Regions from separate parts of the Homo sapiens genome. Here region 2 is linked to region 1. Evidence: promoter capture Hi-C in 16 types of primary human blood cells and fetal thymus (Javierre and others, 2016). All regions are on one chromosome and are shown on one strand. Each heading gives the region's core, a stretch centred on a gene start or on the middle of the fragment in contact. The rest is flanking DNA. Distances are from core to core; before and after follow the strand shown.

Region 1 (2,700 bases), core at 78-2,577:
GGACAAAATATTTTCTGGTTTGGGCTAAGATCCACAGAACCTAATGATCAGTTTACAGCCTGAGGAAGGAAGTCAGTTATACCCTGATCAGGGTGGGGGTCATGGTGGTCATCTAGACATTCTATGGCTGGGTGGTGGTGGAGGGCACTCACCTTGTGAACACTCGGACATGGTGAATTGGCATTGGCATTGCTGTTGAAGGACAACTCAGCCGTGTTCTTAGCCATGGCCATTTAGGCCTGTTCTGATGCAGGGTTCTGATCCAAGGTACCAGTGTGGTCCCTCAGGGAAGTACTGGGGATCGTCACTTATGCCTGTTCTGGACATGGTCACCGAGAACTGTCCTGTAGGCATTCACTTAGGAATCATTCGAAGTGGAATTGCTCCTGGATACGTTCTCCTTGTACTCTGTTTCCTCCTCCTAGTGTCTCTGTGTGAAGAAGCCCTCCTCACTCAGCCCTCGGCGACCCTCTGGTACCCTGGACAGCTCCCCGGGGAGCAGTCTACCGCTAGGCGGCGGCTGCTAAGAGAGGAACCCTCCTGACGCGGAGTCTGCCGCTCCGGGGCTCGCTCTCCGGCAGGCCCGGGGAGAGGTGGGGTGACAATGGGTTGGGGTGCGCGCGTGCCTCATAGGTGCGAGACAGAGCGAGCCGCCGGGGTGTGAGTCAGCGCGCTGGGGGCTAAGAAGCTGGGTGAATAGTCACGGAATCTCACTCACGCTCGGCTCCTCCACCCATCCCGTCTACAGCGCGTGTCCCAGTCCAGGGCGTGCGTGCGCTCGGTGTCCGATTCCGGGCTGTGTGTGTCCATTTGGCGAGATGTCGAGAGCGGGGGGAGTGTCCTTGTCGGTGTATCTGGGCCCAGGTTAGGGGACTTCTCCTCCCCACCCCCGCGTGGGTGTGGGGGTGTGTCCGGGCTAGGGCGCGTGTGCTTCTGTGCCTGTGCGTGCGTGTGCGGGTCAGGGTGGTGGGACCGCGCATCAGGGCAGGGTGCCTGCGTCTGCGTCTGGGTCTGTCTGGTCTGCATGTCGGCGCGATCTCGACCTGGATTCGTGTCCCTGGATGTCGAGAGGCCAGCGTGGTGGGGGTGTCCAGCCTCCCGGAGGAGTACTATGCCTTGACACCTTCGTTTCACCGCCCCAAAGCTGGCCTGGGGCTCCGTAGGGAGTGGCCTGCATGGGGAGGGCCCGCGTGCTGTGTTTCTGGGAGGGGTAAGAGAGTGGGGGCGCAGGGGGCGGGCCAGGTCCCTGGGCGCGGCGCGGGCTCGGGGGACCCGCGCGGCTGACGTCAGGCCACTCCTTAAATAGAGCCGGCAGCGCGCTCCGCTCGGCATTTCCCGAAGAGCCAGATCGCGGCCGGCGCCAGCGCCACCGTCCGGTCCACCCGCCAGCCCGCACAGCCGCGCCGCCGCCGAGCGTTTCGTGAGCGGCGCTCCGAGGATCAGGAATGGGGCTTCGGGCGCTGGGCGCGCTCCGAACCCGGCGCACGTAAGAGCCTGGGAGCGCCCGAGCCGCCCGGCTGCCCGGAGCCCCATCGCCTAGGACCGGGAGATGCTGGAAATGCAACCGCCTGTTCCCCGAGGAGCCGCTGCCCCCGGGACCCCCTGGCACTGTGCGCACCCTGGTCAGCAGCCCCCGGAGAAGACGGCGCCCCCAACGCCCGACCCGCGTGGCCGTGGCAGCGCCACGCGAGCCCTCTAGGCGACCGCAGGGCCACAGCAGCTCAGCCGCCGGTGCCCCCTCGGAAACCATGACCCCCGGCGCGGGCCCATGGAGCCATGGCCTATAGGGTCCTGGGCCGCGCGGGGCCACCTCAGCCGCGGAGGGCGCGCAGGCTGCTCTTCGCCTTCACGCTCTCGCTCTCCTGCACTTACCTGTGTTACAGCTTCCTGTGCTGCTGCGACGACCTGGGTCGGAGCCGCCTCCTCGGCGCGCCTCGCTGCCTCCGCGGCCCCAGCGCGGGCGGCCAGAAACTTCTCCAGAAGTCCCGCCCCTGTGATCCCTCCGGGCCGACGCCCAGCGAGCCCAGCGCTCCCAGCGCGCCCGCCGCCGCCGTGCCCGCCCCTCGCCTCTCCGGTTCCAACCACTCCGGCTCACCCAAGCTGGGTACCAAGCGGTTGCCCCAAGCCCTCATTGTGGGCGTGAAGAAGGGGGGCACCCGGGCCGTGCTGGAGTTTATCCGAGTACACCCGGACGTGCGGGCCTTGGGCACGGAACCCCACTTCTTTGACAGGAACTACGGCCGCGGGCTGGATTGGTACAGGTAAGGACCAGGAGCTCCGCTCCGTGCGCCGGGTCTCTGATCGCTTCCATTGGGAGAGCCATCCGTCTCTTGTGTTTTCTCTTTCTTTTAACCCAACTCATTGTATGGGTTCAGGCTGACACACAGGGCCATGGGGGGCTATAGCAGAATTTACCCAGAACTTCCCAGTGATAATCTAGACGGGCAGTTTCTGGAACTGCAAAGGGCGTTCCCTCGTCACTGGAGTCGTTGGAAAAGGATTATCTCCAGTCAAACCTAAGTGCCAGCTAAAGGGCTAACTCCCTCTGTGACCAGCCCTTAGGGTGCCCAAGGAAGGGACAGGCGAGGACCTGTGCTGCCTGAACACGGCACCATCCTAACCCTCTGTAGGTCTTTGCTGGTACCCAGCCCCTGAAGGACCCTGAGAAAGATAAGGCAGTTCAGAGACCCCTTGCAGCAA
Region 2 (2,700 bases), core at 16-2,515, 1.2 Mb before region 1:
AGGCCGAGGTAGGCAGATCATTTGAGCCTAGGAGTTCAAGACCAGCCTGGGAAACATGGCAAAATCCCATCTCTACAAAAAATAGAAAAATTAGCTGGGCATTGTGGCATGCATCTGTAGTCCCAGCTACTTGTGGGGCTGATGCAGGAGGGTCACTTGAGCCCAGGAGGCAGAGGTTGCAGTGAAGTATGATTATGCCACTGCACTCCAGCCTAGGTGGCAGAGTGAGACTCTGTCTCAAAAAAAAAAAAAAAAAAAAGAAGATTGTGAGCAAAAATTGAATGCAATTTTTTTCATAAGCAGAGGTGTAATGGTTATTATTACAAAAGATGATATTAAATTTATTTATGTATTATCTCTTTGCCTCCACCAGAATGTAAGCTTTGTTGAAGGCAAGGATCATTGTTGATTTATTTACTCTGTATCCCAGGCATCTAAAACAGTAAGTGTGCAATAAATATTTGTTGAATGAATCAAAGCATAAGCAAGGCTTCAGATTCATTTTTCTATCAGAGATTCATTTAAAAATGTTAAGGAAATGAGAGGTGAAGACATCCTAAAGGCATAATACTCAAAGTAGTCAGTAGGTTCATTGATAACCCAGAGGAAAATATATAATATTATAGAGGAAAAGAAATTCTCTGAAATCATGGCATCTCTCCTAGCTTGGGATAACATTTTAGCAGAAAGACCGAAGAACTCTTCCAAGAAACATCAAGCAATTAAATGAAGTAGTAGAAAAATCACCAGTACTTTAAAGTAGATGAAGCCATTAAAATAGTTGCAGCTTCAGTAATCACCATGTAAGCCTGTAAGTGGTGGGTCTTAGACCACAACATGGTAGTTATCAAATTGCTTTATTCATCGAAATGTTCATTCTCCTGGCTGCCCTTGAACTTCCAGCCTAAGGCTTTCTCTCTGCAGGGTTGTCAGCATGCTCATGCAAGGCTTTGCCTCTGCAGATTATCAGAGGTGTACTCCATGCCCCTCTCACCATGAAAAAAGGGAGAAAAAGACAATTTCGTCTCAGAGATAGAAAATCTCCCAGAGAGAACCCCTGGCAGCTGGAATCCATTTTTTTCCCCCTGAAGCTGGAATCTGTTATAACTACAGAACACTGAAGGATAATGAGGTTCTGCTGCTAAGCAAATGCTGGGACAAAAAGCACAGAGGTGCTGCAGCCAGGCAGAGACTGGGCTTTTCATGAAACCCTGTGTCTCTGAGCACATATTGCAATAATTCTCTGACTAGCTGCTCAAGGCCTTGGCTTCGTGGCTTTTTACTCCGTTTAAAGGTCTTGATCAGGCCACTTCCGTTTTTAATGTTTGAGAAATGTCTGATTTATGCTGCTTCAAAGTGGAACTTGGGTTTCTATTACCTTTTTGGCACCTTGCACCCATTGTTGGCCTAATTCTGCTGTCTCGTCTATCTTGTGGTTCCTATCAGTAAACAAAGTCCAGGAGAGGCGTCATGCTTGTGAACACCTCCAACATCAAGTTCAAAAGTACAATCATGACCTTGTCCTGTCGTTCTCAGAATCTGGGCTCAGCTATTTCAAACCTCCCATGTCTTCACTGGTAGTGGTCAATTAGAAATCACTGAATCCTTTCCCTAGAGTGGTCAGAGACAGCCAGTTTATGGTAATTTGGGCACAAGTGCCAATTGGAAAGGTGCATTATTCAAACCACTTTGGCTACAAGTGACAGAAATTCAATGCAGGTTAGCTTAAATAAAAAAGGAATTCGGGCTGGGAACAGTGGCTCATGCCTATAATCCCAGCATTTTGGGAGGCCGAGGCGGGTGGATCACCTAAGGTCAGAAGTTCTAAACCAGCCCGGGCAACACGGTGAAACCCTGCCTGTACTATAAATACAAAAAATTAGCCAGGCATGGTAGTGCACGCCTGTAGTCCCAGCTACTCTGGAGGCTGAGGCAGAAGAATCACTTGAACCCGGGAGGTGGAAGTTGCAGTGAGCCAAGATCACGCCACTGTACTCCAGCCTGGGCGACAGTGAGACTCTGTCTCAAAAAAAAAGAAAAAAAGAAAAAAAAGGGAATTTATTGGCTTCTGTAGCTGAAAAGTCAGGCAGATTTGGATCTCAAATTATGTCATTAACTAGTTTCTCTGACTTACCCTCTGCGTTGTGTATAAGCTTTTCATCGCATGGCAGCAAGATACCTCCATGTTCACATAGGGCTAACAGCCCAAGATGGTGAGGAAACATGCACTTTTGTTCCAGTAGCACAGAAAAAGTCCCCAGGTGGACGCTAATGGGCACTGTATGAGTCAAGTGCTCATGGCTGAGGCAGTAGTTGTACCTTGACACATGAAGTCCTCTGACCAGATCTGGGCATGTACCTGACCTTGGGGATGGAAGTGAGGCAGTCCAGCTCCACCAACTCGTAAGGACTGAGACAGTTTACTAGGGAAGAGGGGAAAGCGTGTTTCTTACAGGAAGAAATGCGGGCAGACAAAACACCATATACCCCTTAAATTAGGTTTTCCACAGATAATTGAGGTGGAGCAGAAGGGTAACCACATTTTGACAGCATCATCAGTATGTGGTGAGTGGCCCAGCATTTGACCCTGGCCTCTGTGGTCATCTCAGAGCCCAGAAAGTAGCAGCAGAAGAGCAGAGCATGGGTAGGTAACCATCAGTTCTTGGATAACTGAAGGGTGATCTTGAGGAGCAGTGAGTC

Evidence for each region. Contacts are between HindIII fragments. The CHiCAGO score rates a contact against its expected background, and 5 or more counts as called.
Region 2: a fragment that was not itself captured here is called in contact with the fragment with the promoter of HS3ST2 in region 1 in 4 of 17 cell types (endothelial precursors, erythroblasts, M0 macrophages and 1 more); the score reaches 11.9 in endothelial precursors.

The regions. Positions count from the first base shown.
Region 1 is chr16:22,812,835-22,815,534 of GRCh38, forward strand. HS3ST2 (heparan sulfate-glucosamine 3-sulfotransferase 2) reads left to right here and starts at 1,328. Exons shown (of 2, transcript NM_006043.2): 1 at 1,328-2,261. The coding sequence starts at 1,777. It overlaps LOC107984851 (collagen alpha-1(XVI) chain), which reads right to left and starts at 2,025. Exons shown (of 4, transcript XR_001752349.2): 1 at 1,873-2,025; 2 at 153-430. The HindIII fragment of the contact is 5,471 bases long and covers 1-2,700 here.
Region 2 is chr16:21,564,702-21,567,401 of GRCh38, forward strand. No RefSeq gene overlaps it. Among named protein-coding and RNA genes, the nearest start is that of METTL9, 34 kb to the right of the region's middle. The HindIII fragment of the contact is 1,772 bases long and covers 380-2,151 here.